Linked DNA regions of Homo sapiens: region 1 is linked to region 2. Evidence: promoter capture Hi-C in 16 types of primary human blood cells and fetal thymus (Javierre and others, 2016). All regions are on one chromosome and are shown on one strand. The core of a region is centred on a gene start or on the middle of the fragment in contact, and the rest is flanking DNA. Distances in the headings are between cores, read along the strand shown.

Region 1 (5,563 bases), core at 2,381-4,880, 460 kb before region 2:
TTTTACTGTTCTGAGCCTCTTTATTATAAGCTAAAACTAGTCTCTTTTTTTGAGACAGGGTAATGCTGTCTTCACCCGTGCTGGAGTGCAGTAGCACAATCATAGCTCACTGTACCCTCAAATTCCTGGGCTCAAGTGAGTTTCCCACCTCAGCCTTCTGAGTAGCTGGGACTACAAGCATGGTCTACCATCCACTACTAATTTTAAAATTTTTTGTACAGACAGGATCTCCCTATGTTGTCCAGGCTGGTATTGAACTCCTGGGATCAAGGCATCCTCCCACCTCAGCCTCCCAAAGTGATGGGATTACAAGTGTGAGCCACAGTGCCCCCACTTAAAACTAGTCTTAAAAAGACATTACATTATTTAAATTGCCCTATTTAAAAGTACTGCAGCACCTTTAAGTTCCACATGCAGTTGGAATTATAATTATGTAGCATAATTTTATAGAACTTTGGAGCTAGAAGGAATCTAGAGGTCATCTAGGCCAGGGTTTGCAATTTCTCTGAGAGATTCAGAGGGCCGCGTTAGGCCTATGGAATTTGTTTGAACAGCACAGTTCGTTTTGTTTTACCTTGTTTTGTTTTGTTCTTAATGTAAATTTGAATGCCTATTGGCATGCTGTTTCCAATTTGCCACAATAACCGTCTCTCCAGATTTTCTTGTACTTGCCAGCTTCACACATTTAACGTTACCTGCTTGGTCCCCAAAGGTATTTGAATTCTTGGCCCTAATAGCCTCTTCTTACTTTATAAATAGTGAAACTCAGACTCTGAGAAATTAAGCACTTTTTAAATGAGCATACTACTAAATATTCCCAGGAATAATAATAAACATCTGTTTTACACTCACGGCGTATAGTTTGCATTCATTGACTCATTTATTGCTCATAACAACCATTTGGGATTTATTATTCACTTTGTATTACTGATGACACTGAAGCTCAGAAAGGTTAGTGAATTTCATCAAGGTTGCTTAACCAATTACATTAAAAGAATACAGTACCAGATTAGATACTATTAGTGTTAATTTTCTGATTTGATAACGGTTAAAAGGAGAATGTCTTTTTCTTTTAGGAAATATACATTAAAGTACTTAGGGGTAAAAGGACATCATGTTTGCAGTTTACTTGTTCAGTTTGTTCAGAAAAACTAGAGAGAGAAAGACTAAACAAGCAAATGTGATCAAATGTTAACATTTGAGTAATCTAGGTGAAGAGTATATGTACTATTTTTGCAACTTTTCTGTAAGTCTGAAATTATTTCAAAATGAAAAGTTAAAAAAAGGAGAGTTCCTAAACCTAGGTATTCGGCTATTAAGCATATTCATGCTATTTTTCTACTTTTGGGAAATGTTGAATTAGCATTTCTTCTTCCTTTATTTTTCAGTTAAAAGTATTCAGTAATTTTTCATGAAAAGCATTACAACAGTTAAAAGTATCATATAATGTGTATGATGATTTTTGAAAAATGAGAACATGATTGAATGCTTCTTTTTGACTAACTCTAAAAGAATGTATAGGTTAAAAAAGATTTTTTGTTTGTTTTGTTTGGAGATGAAGTCTCATTCTGTTGCCCAAGCTGGAGTATAGTGGTGCAACCATAACTCACTGCATCTGAAACTCCTGGGCTCAAGTAATACTCCTGCCTCAACAAAGGTAGTATTCTTCAGCAAAATTTTTGTGTAACTTTTCTGTTTTTTGTGTATTCTACAGCCTAAATCTGTCATTGTTGGATTAATTAAAGAAATGATTGCCAAGTTTCAAGAGGAACTTCCCATGTATTCTCTATCATCATCTGATGAGGCACGGCAGGTAGACTTGCTAGCCTATATTGCAAAAATCACTGAAGGTTTGTATATTTGTCAGGCAGATTATCTTGAGAGTTATGAGTTACCAGTTTCTCACTAAACTCCTTTACTTTCTGCCACTTGATTTTTATAAATAAATTTGTGTGCGTATGTACATCTGTTTTTGAAATAAGAAATTCCTGTGCCTCAGGCCAGGCGCAGTGGCTCACTCCTGTAATCCCAGGACTTTGGGAGGCTGAGGCAGGCAGATCACCTGAGGTCAGGAGTTGGAGACCAGCTTGGCCAACATGGTGAAACCCTATCTCTACTAAAAATAAAAAAAGTAGCTGGGCGTGGTGGCAGGTGCCTGTAATCCCAGCTACTTGGGTGGCTGAGGTGGGAAAATTGCTTGAATCCGGGAGGCAGAGGTTGCAGTGAGCTGAGATTGAACAACTGCACTCCAGCCTGGGCAACAGAGCAAGACTCCATCTCAAAAAAAAAAAAAAAAGAAAAAAAAAGTAATTCCTTTGCCTTTATCACAGGGTATTACCATGTAATTCCAATAAATATTATTTATTTTTTTATTTTTTTGAGATGGAGTCTCGCTGTGTCACCCAGGCTGGAGTGCAGTGGTACCATATGGGCTCATGCAACCTCTGCCTCCTGGGTTCAAGCGATTCCCCTGCTTCATCCTCCCATGTTGCTGGGACTACAGGCATGCCCAGCCAATTTTTGTATTTTTGATAAGAATGAGGTTTTGCCATGTTGGCCAGGCTGGTTTTGAACTCCTGACCTCAGGTGATCCTCCCGCCTTGGCTTCCCAAAGTTCAGGGATTACAGGCATGAGCCACCGGGCCTGGCCAGGTTTCTTAAAGTGTAAAGAATTGGTCTTAAACAGATAAAACAATTCTTGTTCAAAACCACTTGCTGTATATTAATGATCCCAAACTTTTTTTCATGATATGTATATGTGGCTTGTTGGCTTATTCAATATATTGGATCAGAATATCTATGATTCTCATCAAGAATAAAGGCAAATACCTATGTTTGAAACATTTGGTAAGGTGTTAGACATATTTTTTTATTGTAGACCAGAGCAATGAGTTGGAATATTTTTCAGAATTATGGAAATCCTACTTTTTTAGAGTCTTATACAATATTTTAAAAATGTTTAGAAAGATACATTCTCTTTAGAAGGATAATTTCTATTTAGTCGACTATTTAATAGGAAACGTCTGCCTTCCTTGCATTCATTTGTTCAGTAGTATTTTTTGCCCATTATGGACTAGCACCATATTTTCTCTCTAAGCTATGAAGCCTGCTATATATTTTTTTTAAAGATCCTAAAAAAATTCTTGATATTTTTGAATTCTCAGGATAATTCACCTTTCTTTCTAGGTGTTTCAGATACAAATTCAAAGAGCTGGGCAAATCATGAGAATAAAACAGTCAATAAAATTACTGTGGTTGGAGGTGGAGAACTCGGTATTGCCTGCACATTAGCAATTTCAGCAAAGGTATGTAAACATAGTGGTTATAAATACATCTATCATAGTGCCACACTTCTAGGCAGGTTGTGTTTTACACACCAAAAAATGCCTTCATTTTGTCGTGGGAAAACCTTATTTTGGCTTAAAATATATTTAGTAAGTTGACAAAAAAGTTGAAAGCTTTCATCAGTGATGTTGCCTTTTAATTAGTAGGTTTAAAAAAGTGATTTGAACAATGGGCTTATCCTCATCCAAGGGAAAGCTCAATTTGACATTCATATGACTTAATCACAAATTCTTTTGTATTTTCTGAATCATGCCACTTTAATTAAACTCATTTAATGTAGTAATTTTAGCTCTTTCTAAAATTGGCTTTTTTTTTTTTAAAGATGGCCTTTTCTTACATAATTACTTTCTTTTAGGATCACAGTTTCTGAGTTGATATTTAATACTAGTTTAGGGTTTGTTTTTTTCATCAGTCCTTTTTACTAGTGTCTGCATAAATTGTTTGCAGGAAAGCTTAAATGCCCTTCCAGAGAGGTTCAAAAGACCTGCCTGCCTCCCTCCAGAGCCTAGTATCATGATAACAGCATGTCTTTTGTCATTTGAGAGATGTAGCCCTGAATAGAATAGCTGTACCTCTATATATTTATTTGGTGGCTGGCATTAGTTTTTCTTTTCTATATATATTTGATTGTTTTGCCATCTAAATTCTTCCCTTTCCATTTAAGACTCACATATGTCTTGGAGGTGGGTTCTACTGCAGCAAATAATTAAATTATATCCATGGAGCTAGAATATCTTAAAAGCTGGCTGCTCAGAGTTAAATATGCCAACTTTTGGCATGCTGTAGTTTTATTTCTTTCACCCTCCATTTGAATACACTATCACCTCTTTTTTTTTTTTTTTTTTTTTAGGTGGAGTCTCGCTCTGTTACCCAGGCTGGAGTGTAGTGGTACAATCTTGGCTCACTACAGCCTCCGCCTCCTGGGTTCAAGCGATTCTCCTGCCTCAGCCTCCAGAGTAGCTGGGACTACAGGCATGCGCCACGACGCCCAGCTAATTTTTGTATTTTTAGCAGAGACAGGGTTTTGCCATGTTGGCCAGGCTGGTCTCGAACTTCTGACCTCAAGTGATCCACCTGCCCTGGCCTCCCAAAGTGCTGGGATTACAAGTGTGAGCCACCGTACCTGGCCTGCTATTACCTCTTAATTAGAATTTGAGTTGTATTCAGTCTTTTGTCACTAAATAAATGCTTCTATAAACATTTCAAGTTGCTTGTTTTCTCATCTGAATTTTTATTTGGTCATACATTATTTTATTTTATTTAGACAGGGTCATGTTCTGTTGCACAGGCTGGAATGCAGTGGTGCAATCTCAGCTTACTGCACCCTCCACCTCCCCAGCTCAAGCCATCCTCCCACCTTAGCCTCCCAAGTAGCTGGGCTTACAGGCGCCAGCAACCATCCCCACTAATTCTTGTATTTTTTTGTAGAGACAGAGTTTCACCATGTTGCCCAGGCTGGTCTTGAATTCCTGGGCTCAAGCAATCTTCCTGCCTCAGCCTCCCAAAGTGCTGGGAGTACAAGCATGCCCCACTGCACCCGGCCTGGTTGTACATAATTTTAAAAAATAGTACTAGTGAGTCAGAGGGCATGAATGGTTTTTATAGCACTTATGACATAGTGCCAGATTGCTCTTTGGAAAGGCAGAACTAATTTATGCTGCTAATAACATGCACATCAACCTGATTTTTGACATCCCTAACAGTACTAAGTTTTATTTATTTGTAATTATTTGTCTTTTTTTTTTTTTGGTAAGCACAAGAAGGCATCTGAAAGTCTGAAAGTCATGGTTTTTCATTTTTGTTTTTGAGACCAGGTTTCTCTCTGTAGCCCAAGTTGGCATGCACTGGTATGATCATGGCTTACTGCGGTCTCTATCTCCTGGGCTTAAGAGATCTTCCCACCTCAGCCTCCTGAGTAGCTGGGACCACAGGGGTGTGCCACTACACCTAGGTAATTTTTAGTTTTTTTGTAGAGATAGGTCTCCCTGTGTTGCCTAGATTGGTCTTGAACTCCTGGTTCAGACTATCTTCCTGCCTTGGCCTCCCAAAGTGCTGGGATTACAGGCATGAGTCACTGCTCCTGGCCATGTTTTTAAACTGTTAGAAGAATCTCACTGTCATTATTTGTCTGTGAATTGTCTGGGTGGAAAATTTGCCGTTTTTCAGCTGGGCCCGGTGGCTTACACCTGTACTCCCAGCACTTTGGGAGGCCAAGGCA
Region 2 (6,057 bases), core at 2,393-4,892:
GTGAGAGATATTGGGACAAAAAAAAAGAAAGGAAAAAAAACCTGCTTTCTGGTTATAAAATGTAATTCTGTTTGATTAGCACACTGATGACATTGGAGAGTGTGTAATAACTAAGGATTATGATTAATCCAATTCTGTGCACCTGAGATCCAAAGAGAAAAGAAAAAAAACAAAACTCATGGAGCCTAGCTGTGAGTATCAGACTCAAATAAAAGTTGAGAAGACATTGGGAGGTTATCTCAGTAATGCCAACAACTTACAAATGAATTTTAGACTGGCCTCTTTCTTTTTTTTTTTTTTTTTTGAGACAGGATCTCACTCTGTCACCCAGGCTGGAGTGCACCGGTGCGATTTCAGCTCACTGCAACATCCACCTCCCAGGCTCAAGCCATCTTCCCAGCTGGGAATACAGGTGTGCGCAACCATGCCTGGCTAATTTTCATATTTTTTGTAGAGACCAGGTTTCTCCATGTTTTCCAGGCTGGTCTTGAACTCCTGACCTCAAGTGATCAGCCCACCTCAGCCTCCCAAAGTGCTAGGATTATAGGCATGAGCCATCGCGCCCAGTCCTGGCCTCTTCTTTTTAAAACTCATTTTTATTTTATTAAGAATAAAACAAATAATATACCATGAGTATATGTCAAAATTTAACATAAATTATATATCATAAACCAGCAAGTATTGAATTGTGGACTCACATCAATATGATGGTTGGTAAACATAACCTATATGTGTGTATATGATAAAAGAAATGAGTTGGGAGGCCGAGGCGGTGGATCACGAGGTCAGGAGATCGAGACCATCCTGGCCAGCATGGTGAAACCCCGTCTCTACTAAAAATACAAAGAATATTAGCCAGGCGTGGTGGTGGGCACTTGTAGTCCCAGCTACTCGGGAGGCTGAGGCAGGAGAATGGTGTGAACCCGGGAGGCGGAGCTTGCGGTGAGCCGAGATCGTGCCACTGCACTCCAGCCTGGGCGACAGAGCGAGACTCCATCTCAAAAGATAAATAAATACATTAATTAATTAAAATAAAATAAATAAAAGAAATGAGCTGGGTATGGTTGCTCATGCCTGTAATCTTAACACTTTTGGAGGCTGAGGTGGGAGGATCACTTGAGATCAGGAGTTGGAGACCAGCCTGAGCAACACAGGGAGACCTTCTGTCTCCAAAAAGGTAACTCTCTGCAAGCCTGACTGCTGAAACTGCCTCTTGTAAACGGAGACCAGTTTTATCTAACAACTGCTGAAACAACCTACTGTGACTCTAAGACTAATTTTACCTGCTGCCATCTCTCACCAATCCTAGCTTGCAAGCTCCCCCAAACCTTACTAAAACCAATAAAATTTCTTTCAAAACAACGTGTAACATTTCTCCTTTTTATAAAAGCCCCAACCTTCTCTTTGTACTTCAGATATATTGAAGACGCCCACCTGTCTCATCTGTGTGTATGCCCTGAATTGTAATTCTTACTTTCTAAATCAATTGCTTTAAATTTAGAGATTCATCTCTATGTTTTGTTTGACTTTGACGTAAGTATCACAGTAATTCTAGGCAAACATTGGACACCTTCATTATGTTTTCTAATATAGTTATGACTGAGTATTTAAAATATTCATGTGGACATTTTATTTTAAATAATTTCGGCCGGGCGCGGTGGCCCGCGCCTGTAATCCCAGCACTTTGGTAGGCCGAGGCGGGCGGATCACGAGGTCAGGAGATCGAGACCATCCTGGCTAACACGGTGAAACCCCGTCCCTACTAAAAATACAAAAAAAAAATTAGCCGGGCGAGGTGGCGGGAGCCTGTAGTCCCAGCTACTCTGAAGGCTGAGGCAGGAGAATGACGGGAACCCCAAGGGGCGGAGCCTGCAGTGAGCCGAGATCGCGCCACTGCACTCCAGCCTGGGCGACAGCGAGACTCCGTCTCAAAATAAATAAAATAAATAAATAAATAAATAATTTCATGTCTCCATTCCTGTTTGGTCATTATATTGATATTTTTGAAATTTCATGTGGAAGTAGCTTATATCATCTATAAATTTAATTCCATTAAATCAAAGTGGGTACTTGTAAATCAATTCCATCATAGGTAATTTTTTTAGTTTAATGTTTACGATTCTTATGGAGAAAGAAGTGTTTTTCATTTACCTTTGCATGGGTGCTTAAAATACACATTTCTATTTCAAGATGACACTGAAAAATTCTTCTAATATAACAGCAGCAAAAATGTAATTCTGCAATTACAAAAGTGCTAAACTGAAATCCATAATTAAGGTTTTCTCATGTTTACAATTGTGGTTCTTTAATCAATACTAATACTATGCAGGTCTGTTGTAAGGTTTCTAGATTCGGTTTAAACACACGCACACAATACTGTCAGTTGTAGGAGGCTTTACAAGTTATATTTCATGCACTTTTTTTTAAAGAGTTCTAAAAGAGCCAACCAGTCCACAAGACAGACAGAAAAAAAGTTAAATTAACTGGAGTAAATTGGACTCTTAACATTCGAAACATGCAAGATTCTGCAGCAAACTGGGAGTACTTCAGGATTGGCCTGCTATCTTCCTTAGTATTAATTTCATCTTAACAGTTTAAGAAGTTGGACATTTTAACACCATCAAGCGCATTTAGGTGACGTGTTTCTTGTGTGTTAACTTGGCTCCCCGGAATGATCTAGTTAGTGAACTAGTCACTAATAATTTGGTCACCAGGCAAATCAAGCCTACACGAAAGGAAGCGACTATTCAAAATACCGTAGTATCATCTGAACCTACCCAAATAATTTATGTTCAACATAAACATGTAACTTCAATAATGAGATGACTCATTAATGAGTCAAGCTCCTCCAACAAGACAAAGACAACATCTCTTCTTCTAAGGTTTAAGTTTTGCATAGAAATCCGGATACATGGAATAGCCCATACCAACAGTCATTGCTCCTACAACAAAGCTGGACTGCCACACGCATGTGGATCAGGTGACGTGATATTTTAGTATTTCCCCTGCTTTTCAATTTGTATAATCCGTATGCAGCAACTACTGCAAAACCTGCCATTCCAATGGGGACAAATGGTGCCTCTTTAGTTTTTCGAATCACTTTGGATCCCTGGAATCCCTCACAAGCCATCCAGCTTCCCCTACGGATATTTTTAGGAATGGCAACAGTGGCCAGAGATCAGAGGATTATATTATTAGGGTTATACAACTTTTATATAAAAAAAGTGGCTTCTGACCAGGCGCGGTGGCTCACGTTTGTAATCCCAACACTTTGGGAGGCCGAGGCAGAAGGATTGCTTGAGCCAGAAGTTCGAGACCAGCCTGGGCAACATAGATCAGAAGGCGAATAGAATAAGTCCGCTAGCTTTGAGATTCACATCTGTTCCTGAGGCTTCCTCACTGCTCCCCACCCTTCCTTCTTCAATCAGTCTAAGAGCTCCTGGAGAAATGGAACACCTGATTCAGTGAGGGTGACAAATAATTATGAGTATGTTCGTGCCAGGGTCCTCGATAGGATGGGGTGGGGGAGGTCAAGCCGCCTTGGCAGCTGGCCAGGCTCCGAACAGCAGATGGCGCTGTAGGGGGAGTCCCACCGGGTACGCCGGGCGCTCTGGCACTAGGGCGCCGGTCGTCTCCTCCGCAGCTTCCGGCACGGCCTTCAAGCGCGGGACGCGACAAAGTCATGGACCGCAACCCCTCGCCGCCGCCGCCGGGTCGCGACAAGGAGGAGGAGGAGGAGGTGGCCGGTGGAGACTGCATAGGGAGCACGGTCTACAGCAAACACTGGCTCTTCGGCGTCCTCAGCGGACTCATCCAGGTGTGGAAACTCGCGCCACGCGTGGGGTGTCCCTACATCCCCCAGGCACCGGGGCTCCGCCTCTGGCGAATCCTCCTGCCCCGGGAGCCGCCATCCCCACAAAGACCCCTCCCCAGGCGTGCGCTGCGGGACCTTGCTCCTTGCGTTTCGCCGGCCGCTGCGGACCCCAAAACTATCTGGGCCCCCTCGGGGTCTCTCGACACAAAGGGAAGTATAATGGTAGGGATGCTGAAATACTTGCCGTTCTATTTTGCTTTCCCAAGTTCTCCAAAAATACATGATCGTGTAACTGCATTCCTCGGGTTTTGCTCCCCATCCCCACTGTCATTTCTGAAGCCCAGGTCCTTAATTTATGTATTTCATGGACTATCGTTGTAATAGAATAAATGGTGACTTTAGGGTTATACAACTTTTATATTAAAAACGTGGCTTCTGACCAGGCGCGGTGGCTCACCTCTGTAATCCCAACACTTTGGGAGGCCGAGGCGGAAGGATCGCTTGAGCCAGGAGTTTGAGACCAGCCTGGGCAACATAGACCTGGTTTCTACAAACTTAAAAAAAAAAAAAAAAAAAAGCCGGTCGTGACGGTGCACGCCTGTAGTCCCAGCGACTCAGGAGGCTGAGGCTGGAGGATCGCTTGAGCCTGAAGTTGGAGGCTGCAGTGAGCTATGATCCAGCTTCTGCACTCCAGGCTGGGGGACGGAGTAAGACCCTGTCTCAAAAAAACAAAAAACGCAGCTTCCTTACCCACTAGCTGCAGGTCACCTAACGGCTCAGAACCTCTATTTGTCCCTTAATTTCTATAAAATGGGATTATAATATTTATATTATATATAAGGTTATTGTGTAGGTTAAGTGAGATTATAATGGCAACAGAGTGCTTAGCATGGTGTTTGGCTTATAGGAGGCTGTCAGTAAATGTGTTTTCTTCCCCCCATGTTTCCCTAATTGGTTCCTCTCCTCCTATTGTCTATCCTCTCCAGTCAATTTTCTACACAGCTGCCAGAATAATCTTCTTTAAAGACAGGGCTATTCATGATACTGCTCTTAGTTCTTTTTGCCTGGGAGAAAAATGCATGTTTCTTGAAGTTTGGAATCCAGGGCTGTTTGTACATTTTCCAGCCTCATCTTCTCATGATACACTGTGTTCCATCAACTCTGAACTGTTCACCATCCCCAAACATGCTAGGCCCTTTCTTAACTCTGAACTCTTGTGCTTTCCTCTGAATACTCACTTCTCTCCTTCTTCACATGACAAACTACTATTCTTCCTTTAAAATTTAGCTTAAATATCAGCACCTAAGGGAAGGTTCCCCATCTTCTCCTAGGAATAGGTCATTGGTCCATCGTTTTTGCTACCAGAACTCTTTGTCCACAATTCAGTTGAATCACTTTGCCTTTTCTAATATGACTATCCCTTTACATGTCTTTCCCCACTAGATCCTAAAAGTTAAAAAAAAAAAAAAGCTTAAATGTAAGGGATTATATCTTACTTGTCTTTGTATATCTACCCCAGTGCCTAGCAACAGTATTTACTTTGTGAATGTTGAAAGAGTAGATCTACCCAAGGTACTACATTTTTAAAAGAAGATTTTTGCAAGAGAAGATACTTTGCTGATAGCCTCTTTGTGACTTCTAAACGATTATGGGTTAATATTAAAGTAAGTGCTCACTTAACATCAGTAGGTTCTTGGAAATTGTGACTGTAAGCAAAATTACTGATAATGAAACCAATTTTACCATAGCTAATTGATATAAACAAGAGTTAAGTCCCTGTGGCATATTTCTGGACACAAGAACATCACCAAACTTCTAAATGAGGACCTAAAACACTTCTAATATTAAACATTGAGATAAATGTGAGCTATAATACGTTTAGGAAAGGTTAATAAAAACAAGATAATTATTCACCCAGTTTTGGTGAGTTAGTGAGTGATGGTGGTTGTAGTGATTATCACTACAACCTTTATTCTTTGATTGTGTTAAATCAAGGAATAAATGTTTACAAAGCAAAAATGATCACCTCTTACTACTGTACAGTCCAAAAACAATAACAAATAAGGCAGGCTTACTGAGCACTTTCCTACCACATAATTATTGTCACGCATCTCTATGGTTATTGTCTTCTTTACAGATTTTTGTTTTATAATAATTTGTATTCATCCATTTCCCAACCCACTTGCTCTGGTTCAGGGTTGAGGGTGGCTGGAGCCTGTACCAGCAGTTCAAGGTGCAAGGCA

What was found. The method cuts DNA at HindIII sites, captures the fragments that hold promoters and counts their contacts. A CHiCAGO score of 5 or more calls a contact.
Region 1: a fragment that was not itself captured here is called in contact with the fragment with the promoter of SAAL1 in region 2 in 1 of 17 cell types (total B cells); the score reaches 5.3 in total B cells.

The regions. Positions count from the first base shown.
Region 1 is chr11:18,562,634-18,568,196 of GRCh38, reverse strand. UEVLD (UEV and lactate/malate dehyrogenase domains) reads left to right here. Exons shown (of 12, transcript NM_001040697.4): 5 at 1,715-1,850; 6 at 3,187-3,305. Among named protein-coding and RNA genes, the nearest start is that of UEVLD, 23 kb to the left of the region's middle. The HindIII fragment of the contact is 339 bases long and covers 3,461-3,799 here.
Region 2 is chr11:18,103,667-18,109,723 of GRCh38, reverse strand. SAAL1 (serum amyloid A like 1) reads left to right here and starts at 3,642. Exons shown (of 12, transcript NM_138421.3): 1 at 3,642-3,817. The coding sequence starts at 3,683. It also overlaps the pseudogene HIGD1AP5. RefSeq lists enhancers at 3,437-3,486, 3,637-3,896. The HindIII fragment of the contact is 5,763 bases long and covers 1-5,286 here.